Linked DNA regions of Homo sapiens: region 1 is linked to region 2. Evidence: promoter capture Hi-C in 16 types of primary human blood cells and fetal thymus (Javierre and others, 2016). All regions are on one chromosome and are shown on one strand. The core of a region is centred on a gene start or on the middle of the fragment in contact, and the rest is flanking DNA. Distances in the headings are between cores, read along the strand shown. Region 1 holds the start of TULP1 (TUB like protein 1). Region 2 holds the start of CLPSL2 (colipase like 2).

The links. Contacts are between HindIII fragments. The CHiCAGO score rates a contact against its expected background, and 5 or more counts as called.
Region 1: a contact is called between the fragment with the promoter of TULP1 here and the fragment with the promoter of CLPSL2 in region 2, in 6 of 17 cell types (erythroblasts, neutrophils, endothelial precursors and 3 more). The highest score is 7.3, in erythroblasts.

What each region holds. Positions count from the first base shown.
Region 1 is chr6:35,511,237-35,516,060 of GRCh38, reverse strand. TULP1 (TUB like protein 1) reads left to right here and starts at 3,165. Exons shown (of 15, transcript NM_003322.6): 1 at 3,165-3,249; 2 at 3,371-3,422; 3 at 3,791-3,881; 4 at 4,255-4,413. The coding sequence starts at 3,203. The HindIII fragment of the contact is 3,090 bases long and covers 2,942-4,824 here.
Region 2 is chr6:35,773,541-35,779,044 of GRCh38, reverse strand. CLPSL2 (colipase like 2) reads right to left here and starts at 2,447. Exons shown (of 3, transcript NM_207409.4): 1 at 2,343-2,447; 2 at 1,464-1,586. The coding sequence starts at 2,426. It also overlaps the pseudogene CMPK1P1. RefSeq lists a silencer at 2,337-2,466. The HindIII fragment of the contact is 8,503 bases long and covers 1-2,655 here.

The sequences.
Region 1 (4,824 bases), core at 1,916-4,415, 260 kb after region 2:
TTCTAGCCTTCAAGATCCTTCAGGCTGGGTGCAGTGGCTCATGCCTGTAATCCCAACACTTTGGGAGGCTGAGGCAGGCGGATCACCTGAGGTCAGGAGTTTGAGACCAGCCTGGCCAAGGTGGTGAAACACCATCTCTACTAAAAATACAAAAATTAGCCAGGCATGGTGGCACACGCTTGTAATCCCAGCTACTTGGGAGGCTGAGGCAGGAGAGAATCACTTGAACCCAGGAGGCAGAGGTTGCAGTGAGCCAAGATCACGCCATTGCACTCCAGCCTGGGAGACAAGAGCAAAACTCCGTCTCAAAAAAAAAAAAATTCCTTCAGATTTCAGTTTAAAAATGCCTTCCTTGGCCAGGCACGGTGGCTCAGGCCTGTAATCCCAGCACTTTGGGAGGCCGAGGTGGGCGGATCACTAGAAGTCAGGAGTTCGAGACCAGCCTGGCCAACATGGTGAAACCCCATCCCTACCAAAACTACAAAAAAAAAAAAAAAAAAAAAATTAGCCAGGCGTGGTGGCGGGTGCCTGTAGTCCCAGCTACTCAGAAGGCTGAGGCGGGAGAATTGCTTGAATCTGGGAGGCGAAGGTTGCAGTGAGCTCAGATTGCACCACTGCACTCCAGCCTGGGTGACAAGAGTGAGACTCCATGTCAAAAAAAAAAAAAAAAATTCCTTCCTCAGGGCAGGGCATGGTAGCTCATGCCTGTAATCCCAGCACTTTGTGAGGCCAAGGCAGGCGGACCACTTGAGGTCAGGAGTTTGAGATCAGCCTGGCCAACATGGTGAAACCCCTTGTCTACTAAAAATACAAAACATAGCCAGGTGCCTGTAATCCCACCTACTCAGGAGGCTGAGACAGGAGAATTGCTTGACCCTGGGAGGCAGAGGTTGCAGTGAGCTGAGATCGTGCCATTGCACTCCAGCCTGAGTGACAGAACAAGACTCCATCTCAAAAAACAAAACAAAACAAAACGAAACCTTCCTTCCTCAGGCAGCCTTGCCTGTACTCTAAATCCAGACTGGAACCCACCTGCTGGTCTCGTGGAGCCCAGTTCCTTTCCTTCTTGGCATTTCTCACAACTAATAATAATGAGATCATTATCACTAATTTGGGTATTTATGTCTCTACTATCTGTCTCTCTCACAAGCATGTAAGCTGCACGAGGGCGGGGACCACATCATGTTGTTCATCTCTGTATGACCATTATTTAGCATAGCGCTTGGCACACAATAGGTGCTCAGGAAATACTTGTTGACTGACACTCAGCTGTCAGTTTCCTCACCTTTAATATCAGGGTGTTTTCGTTTGGTTGTTTGGTTGTTTGGTTTTGTTTTTGAGACAGGGTCTCACTCCATTGCCCAGGCTGGAGTGCTGTGGCACTGTCTTAGCTCACTGCAGCCTCTGCCTCCTGGGCTCAAGTCATCCTCCTGCCTCAGCCTCCCAAGTAGCTGGGACCTCAGGCATGTACCACATTGCTCAGCTAATTTTTAAATTTTTTGTAGAGACAAAGTCTCACTATGTTGCTCAGCCTGGTCTTGAGCTCCTGGGCTCAAGTGATCCTCCCAAAGTGCTGGGATTACAGGCATAAGCCACTGCTCCTTGCCCTAATATCAGGGTGTTAATGTCTGTCTCATAAATATTATTGTGAGGGTGGAGTCAGAATGGGAGCAAGCCACAGTAGGTGGACAATAAATGCTATTATTATTATATGGTCAGAGCCAACTGAGGACTGAGGCCTCTCCGAAGTGGCGACTTGAGGACTGTTTAGAGTTGGATAGGTTTCATGGAATAGGGAGGGCGTTCCGGGAGGGAACAGCCTGAGCAAAGGCATGGAGGACAGAACTGTAAAGGCAGTAAGGAAACCTCTGTGGCTGGATGAAGAGTATGGCTTGGGATAACCCTGTGGTTAGAAAGGCAGACTGGGGCCAGATCAGGGAGAGCCTTGAATGTCAACCCAACACATTTAAACTTAATCCTTAGGCAGTAGGGAGCCAATGAATGTTTTTGAACAAAGGTGGCAACCGAAGAAATAGTATTTTAGAAAGTTCCATTTGATATGGATTTACTGTAATTAGCCAGGATCGTGCCACTGCACTCCAGCCTGGGTGACAAGAGCAAAATTCTGTCTAAAACAAAACAAAACAATACCACAAAAGCATGTCCCCTATCAGTGAAAAAAGAAAAAGAGTTAAGGGTATACCTCCAATACAGACATATTCTTTTTTTTTTTTTTTTTTCTGAGATGTAGTCTTGCTCTTTTTGGCCAGGCTGGAGTGCATTGGCAAGATCTCGGCTCACTGCAACCTCCGCCTCCCAGGTTCAAGTGCTTCTCCTGCCTCAGCCTCCCCAGTAGCTGGGACTACAGGTGCCCACCACGATGCCCAGCTAATTTTTTATTTATTTATTTATTTATTTTGAGACGGAGTCTCACTCTGTTGCCCAGGCAGGAGTGCAGTGGCATGATTTCCGCTCACTGCAAGCTCCGCCTCCCAGGTACACGCCATTCTCCTGCCTCAGCCTCCTGAGTAGCTGGGACTACAGGTGCCTGCCGCCATGCCCGGCTAATTTTTGCATTTTTAGTAGAGATGAGGTTTCACCATGTTAGCCAGGATAGTCTCGATCTCCTGACCTTGTGATCCGTCTGCCTCGGCCTCCCAAAGTGCTGGGATTACAGGGGTGAGCCACCGCACCCGGCTAATTTTTGAATTTTTAGTAGAGACTGGGTTTCACTGTGCCGGCCAGGCTGGCCTCGAACTCCTGACCTCAAATGATCCACCTGTCTCAGCCTCCCAAAGTGCTGGGATTACAGGTGTAAACCACCGCACCTGGCTCTAGTTCTTATTTTTTGTGAGAAATAAAGATAAATACAGGATCCAGTCTAATGTTTTCTTCCACATCCCATTGACAAATGACTAATCGGCCCCTCTCACCCCAAGCTTCTGGGGGCTTCTCGGGGCAGGTGGAGCTGGTGGCCATCCTGCAGGCTGCTGGGGATCTGAGAAGAACTGGAGTTGAGATTCTTCCCCCAGTGGCCTGGGCCTAGCAGGGGAGGGTCGTGGGCTGTAGCACCTCCCACAGCGCGGCCAGGCCTCCACTCCTTGAGCAGGGGGAAGGGGGGTGAAGTTGAGCCGAGATTAGCAGGAGTCGGGAGGGAGGCTCCTAGACCTGCAGAGAAAGGGGTGCGATAGGCAAAGGCACCATGCCTCTGCGGGATGAAACCCTCCGAGAGGTGTGGGCCTCTGACAGGTCTGGAAGGCCCCCAGTTCGTGGCACCTGAACCCTGGGGGGCCTAGATGGAGGGATGGGGAGTGGGTGGGATGGGGAGGGAAGGGGAAGGGAGACAGGCTGATCCCTTTGCTACCCTCAGTGGGCATGAAGAAGAAAGCCTGAGCCCGGAGGCCCCGCGGCGCCCCAAACAGGTATGCCACCCCACTTGGAAAGGAAGCAGAAAGATGTCCCCGCTGTGCGTAAACCCACGCAGGGTAGGGGGTCTAGGGGTGGGACAGGTCCCCCTTAGCAGGGTCTGGGGGTTGCATGTCTGGAGATCTGGGGGGAGAAAGGGCTGTTTGGGGACTTGGGGTTTCCAGGGAAGGAATAGGGACTTTGGAGCATTGGATATGGCCACGATGCATGGAAGGGGTCATCCTGCCTCACTCCAAGAAGGGGGCTGCAGTTCCCCCCGGATAATCTGCGGTTATTTCTGGCGGCTCAAGGGATTAGAGGGGGATGGGCGGGCCTCAGCGCCCCCCTTTCCTTCCTCGACCTCCTCTTGACCCCCGTTCCGCAGCGACCCGCCCCGGCACAGAGGCTAAGGAAGAAGAGGACGGAGGCCCCCGAATCCCCCTGCCCCACGGGATCCAAGCCCCGGAAGCCCGGAGGTGGGCGGGGTGCAGAGCCCGGGTGGACCCCCAGGGTGTGGGCTGCGGAAGGGAGGGGCTTGAGGGCCGGCGCGGGTGTCGCCGAGCCCTGGAACGGGGTGGGGGAGGAGGGGGCGGGGAGTGATGAGAGGGGAGGGATTGGGGTTGGGGTTGGGGTTGGGGTTGGTGTAGAAGGGGGTGGCGTTGGGGTAGAAGGGGGTGGGAAGCTGAATGGAAGCCGGGGAGAAGTGTTGAAAGTGGAAACCCAAGCCCAGGGGAGATCCCTAGGGTGAGGAGCCCGAGGGGGTGCGCCCAGGCTTGGGGGTAGCGGGTAGAGGCGCTGCCTCGCGGACCCGCGGATGGGACCCTGTCTGAACCCCGCATCTCGGCTCAGCTGGGCGGACGGGGAGGCCGCGGGAGGAGCCTTCCCCAGACCCAGCCCAGGCCCGGGCGCCGCAGACGGTCTACGCCAGGTTCCTCAGGGACCCCGAGGCCAAGAAGCGCGACCCCCGGGAAACCTTTCTGGTAGCCCGTGCCCCAGACGCGGAGGACGGTGAGAGAGGGCCCCAGGGACGCGGGTGAGGGGGCGGTGGAGCTAAGGAGAGAAGGGGCTGGCTGGACGGGAACGGCCCAGAGAGGCAGAAAACAACTGTAGTCAAATAGCCCCCACTTTTCTGGCCTTATCTTTGAGCCAGGTATTGTGCTAAGCACCAACTATGAGAGGGTGCTTTGTTCCCCCCCTCCACCATTGTACAGATGGAGAAACTGAGTCATAGAGCCGTTAAGGGTTTTTGCCTTAACCAGCAGTTAGGAGCCAGAAGTAGCCCAGATGGGTCTGACTCAAGGTCAGAAACAGACAAGGTCAGGGAGAAGCACAGTGGATGCAGGGAGATGGGGAAAGGAGGCAAGGCGAGCGTGTAAGGAGAGGAGGGTCTCAGGAGGAGAGAGGGAGGGCATTTCCCCA
Region 2 (5,504 bases), core at 1,198-3,697:
ATCCCAGCGCTTTGGAAGGCCGAGGCGGGTGGATCACCTGAGGTCAGGAGTTTGAGACTAGCCTGGCCAACATGGTCATGGACTAATAATATAAAAATTAGCACATGCCTGTAATCCCAGCTACTCCAGAGGCTGAGGCAGAGGAATTGCTTGAACCCAGGAGGTGGAGGTTGCAGTGGGCCAAGATCACGCCATTGCACTCCAGCCTGGGCAACAAGAGCAAAACTCTGTCTCAAAAAATAAAAAAAATAAAAACCCTCTAGCCACTTCAGCTATAGGGTCAGGCCATGGTAGGGGCCCTGCTGCTTCCTTAGGGCATTGGCAACTCCCCACACAGGGACATAGAGGCTGGGTCCATCCATCCTAGAAAGGTTTGGGCCCAGGGCCAGGTGGGCAGGAACAGGGCGTACTGAGCATTCTGCTCCCTGCATTCCTAAAAGCGAGTGACAACCATGCTGGACTGCACACTCTCCTTGCCAGGACCACATAATCTTCCCAACAGCCTGGTGGGGTAGGTACTTTAGCCTCTCCTTGTAGATGAGGAAACTAAGGCTCAGAGAGCCATGATGACCTGCTTGAAGTCACAAAGATAGGGTGTGGAAAAGTCAGGATTTAAACTCAGGTCCAACTGCAAAGCTGTGGTCCTGCCACTGCAGTGCCATGCTCCTCTCAAGAAATCATGTCACTGTGGCAGGGAGATGGGGACTAGTAAGGGGAAGGTCATTTCCTACTTACCCTGCCTCAGTGGTGTGAGAGAAGAGATATTCATTCATTCAACAAGCATTTATTGGCCGGGCACGGTGGCTCATGCCTATAATCCCAGCACCTTGGGAGGCCGAGCCAGGTGGATCACCTGAGGTCAGGAGTTCAAGACCGGCTTGGCCAACATGGCAAAACCCCATCTCTACCAAAGATACGAAAATTAGCCAGGCATAGCGGTGCACCCCTGTAATCCCAGCTACTCGGGAGGCTGAGGCCCAAGAATCGCTTGAACCCAGGAGGCAGAGGTTGCAGTGAGCCGAGATCATGCCATTGCACTCTAGCCTGGGTGACAGAGCGAGACTCCATCTCGAAACAAACAAACAAACAACAATAAGCATTTATTGAGCACCTACTATGTGCAGATACTAAGCTGGGGGTAGGTGCTTCATAGATGAATATGATGCGATCCCTGCCCTTGAAGAGTTCCAACCACTGGGAGAGGCAGAGAAAAGACATGGCCAGTTAGGGAGATACATGGTCTGCTGAGGGTCTGACCCCAGGGTACAGGAGCTCCAAGGAGGGAAGCCTTCTCAGAGGAGGTGGCTGGAGTTGTTTTGCACCATGAGTAGGAGTTTGCCAAGTGGAGAAGAAGAAGGGCACTCCAGACAGAGGTGAAAAAACAGGTGGGGCCAGGTGTTTTTTTTTTAACCTCCCTGCCCGCTTCTCTACTTGCCAGAAGTTGCCCCATACTAGGGCCTCACCTGGGGCAAGCAGATCATGGTTATTCTGGCCCTGGGGGCACAGAAGGCTCCACCGGAGTCCAAGTCCATGAGGCAGCAGCCACTGTAGCACTCAGAGTGGTGGAAGCACCTGTCTGTGATTTTCTGTGGGGACAGGCAGAATGTCTGCCAGGCTGGGAGCAATCCCTGAGTCGTGTGGGCGGGTAGGGGAGGGTTCCCACCATTGCCAAAGAGCCCAGGGATCCAGGAGAAGTCATGAGGTTGTCACCCCTTGGGGGGCTGGTTCCCCCCCCAGCCCCACCCCGGCCCCTCAGCAGGACCCAGGGCAGCAGAGAGGAGGAGAGGGGGATTAGCACTTTTCCCTCGGCCTCTCCTTTCCTGGACCCCCCTCACCTCCATGAGTCCCATGGGGTGTGTACTCTTAAGTCCCATTTTGCGGGGCAGGGTTGGGGGATGAGAATGAAGGGGCTGCGGGCTCGAAAAAGAGGGAGAGAAAGAGGAGAAAAGGGGAGAGCCCTCGTGCCTGGAAGAATCACTAGACAGTGAGAGGAGGTGGAAGAAGAGGAGGAGAAACCAGAGCATGCAGGGTGGGTTTGCCTGTGAGCAGTTTGGGGAGGGAAGCGAGCCCAGGACTGAGGCCATCGGAAGGGGCACGGGCGGGGGAGGTGGAGGGAGCGAGGGTGCTGGTCATAGGCCAATTTCTCTCCCCTCTGAGGCCACCAGGGGAAAGTGAAGCGGCTTTTGAAGTCCGTCTGAGGATGCCCCAGGCTACCCGCCTGGGTGTGGTTCCGGACCCACCTCTCCCTTTCAGGCTGCCCGGCGCCTTCGGGCTCCAGTGCCCCGGCGGCGGGGCCACCCTCTCCTGCGGTCGCGGCCGGCTGGGCGCGCTCCCCGGCTCACCTTTTTATATTGCGGAAGCGCGCTCCAGAGGGGCAGCACCGCCCCCGACAGGACCCCCGCCACGAGCGCCAGGGCTGCGGCCATGGGCCTGGGCGGCAGAGCAGCGGCGGGGTTCCGAGGGGCCGCGGGATAAAACCTCTTCCCCGGCCACGTGACCCGGCGCCCCAGGCCACCCCGGCGGAGGAGGGACGTGGAGGGCGAGGACGCCTGCGGAAGGGAAGGAGGGAGGAAAGGCGCTCAGGCTCGCACGGGCGGGATTCCAGACTGTAGGGGCCCTGGGAGCCTCCATACGTGTTACTTCCAAGTAGAAGCTTGAAACTGTAAGATAAAACTCTATTTTTATTGTAAGATAAAACTCTATTTTATTGTATTTATTTATTTTACAGACGGAGTCTCGCACTGTCGCCCAGTGCAGTGGCGTGATCTCGGCTCACTGCCATCTCCGCCTCCCAGGTTCAAGTGATCCTCCTGCCTCAGCCTCCCGAGTAGCTGGGACTACAGGTGTGCGCCACCACGCCGGGATAATTTTAAAAATTTCTGTAGAGACGGGGGTCTCCCCATGTCGCCCAGGCTGGTCTCTAACTCCTGGCCTCAAGTGATGGTCCTGCTTCAGCCTCCCAAAGTGCTGGGATTACAGGTGTGAGCCACCGCACCTGGCCTCAAAACTTTATTTTTATAAACGGCACAAAACATATATGCTGAAATAAAAAGAGCTTCCTTCCTGATGTTGATTCTCTGTCTGCCCTTGCAGCCCCAGATTCTCCCCTTACCTTCGGGATAATCCAGCCCCACCCTCTGGGCTGCTCACACCCGCTGCAGGCCCCATTCTCCTCTTCTGTAAGAACCAGGAGGTGGGACAAGATGGTCTCTAAGTCTTAAATCTCTTGCAGTCTTAATCATTCTATTAATTGTCTAAGGATTTGTCTGTGAATTGTGTGAAAGTCAAGATGTGGGGGCAAAATGGAGAAGTGGGAAGAGAAGAAAACTCAGAATAGGGAGGAGGGTTAAGGGAGAGCTAGAGCTGCACAGAGCAATCCTGGAACCGGGGGAGGCAGGCCTTCCTCAGGACTTCCCTATGGATGAAGCTTCCACCTCACCCCACCTGCCTGCTTCTGCTTTTTTTTAATTTCTATTTTTTTTTAATTTTGTATTGTTAATATTTGTTATAGAGACAGGTTGTCCTTATGTTGTCCAGGCTGGTCTTGAACTCATGGGCTCAAGAGATTCTCCTGCCTCGGCCTCCCAAAGTGGTGGGATTACAGACGTGAGCCACCACTCCCAGCCTGCTTCTGCTTTTGAAGTTTCGCTTAAGAAATGAACCGAGGAATCCTGTCTTGGTGGGGAATAACAGCCAAGAATAACAGCCCCCACCGCACTCAGAGGGCCTTGTATCCATTATTTCCGTGAGCCCTCCCTGTATTAACACTAGCTGTCACAGAGTAATTAACACTGGCTGTAACAACAGAACTCCTGGAATTTCGTGGCTTGGCACAATAATGCTTTATGTACAGTCTGATTTGGGGCAAGATACCCTTCTTCCATCCTGTAGCCATCTATAAGACTGGCCTCTGGCTGGGCATGGTGGCTCATGCATGTATTCACAGCACTTCGGGAGGCCAAGGAGAGAGGATCAGTTGTTTTGGGGGTTTTTTTGGTTTTTTTTTTTTTTTTTTTTTTTTTTTTTTTTGAGACAGAGTCTCACGCTATTGCCCAGGCTGAAGTGCAATGGCACAATCTCGGCTCACTGCAACCTCCGCAAAGTGCTGGGATTACCAGTGGGAGTCACCATGCCCGGCTGAGAGGATCTCGTGAGCTCAGGAGTTCAAGGCCAGCCCTGGGCAATATAGTGAGACCTCATTGCTACAAAAAAAATTTAAGAAATTAGCCAGACATGGTGGCACATGCATGTAGTCCTGGCTACTCGGGAGGCTGAAGCTGCAGTGAGTTATGATCGTGCCACTGCACTCCAGCATGGGCAACAGAGTGAGACCCTGTCTCAAAAAAAAAAAAAAAAACTAGCATCCAAGGTCTCCATGGAAGACCTGCCTTCTCCACTCACAAACCACCTGCTGGAACTAGTCACATGATCCCAACCCTCTAACCTTCTGCAAGGGAGGCTGGGAAATTCAAAGGAGTCTTGGAATATTTAGCATCTACTATCATTTCTGCTGCGTAACTCTTAGCCCTGTTTTACAGACTAGGAACCTGAAGGCTCAAGATAAAGTTACTTGCCCAAGGAACAGGATTAAATGGCAGAGTCAGATATAAATCCAGGGCATTCTAGCTCCTGGGTCCAAGTTCTTACCACTGATCTACACTGCTGCGGGCGGCCAGAGGGCTTTGGCCCTAGTAAGGGGGTTCCCATCATTACCTAGTAAGGGGGCTCCAGCAGTCGCGGTCTGAGCTCTCTTCATATGTGTGTTCTGCTACCTTGGCTGACTAGCGACCCATCCACGCAGACCATTTGTGAACTGGAGAGGAGGCCTGGGGATGGATACTTCCTTGTACTGCTTCACCGGCTTCCTTTGCCCATACCCCCATGACCGTTAGATACTTGAGAAGTATTGTTGACTGCTTAGGAAAGTGGCAAATTTGAAGGCAAGGGGCCAGCAACTGCGTGTCAGGGTTAGCAGCCCCTGGGGAACCCACTGAAGGCCCTGAGGGGTGGTGAAGCCCCTGGAATTCTGTACAAAATATTATGGGCATGGCTTTTTTTTTTCTTAAGCCAGAGATCTTCCGGTTTCCTCAAAAACAACTAGTTCAGAACCTTTATTTTCAGTTGAGGAAACCGAGGCCCAGAGAAGGCAGGGACTTCTCCCAGTAACTCAGCTGGTGAGTAGCAGAGCCAGGCCTAGCTCTGCTCCTGACTCCAAGTCCTGTACCATGGCCTGCCAGCACCGGTCACAGGCACATGTCCAGGGTACCTCTGCATTGCGGGGGAGTAGGAACAAGATCACCAGGGTCTCCAGCGCCGGGAATCCCTGAGCTGCCTGACCTGTGAGCATGGCCACAGCTCTGCCCAGGGCCCAAAACTGGCCACCTCAGACTTCAGTGAGCAGAAGGGGGTCAGTTCAGGACAGGGGAGCACCTTGCTGGTGGACTTCTTACCCCCTATTTCCTGCCTCTTCACCTTCCCCTCCTCTGACAGTCTCTAACGTCTCA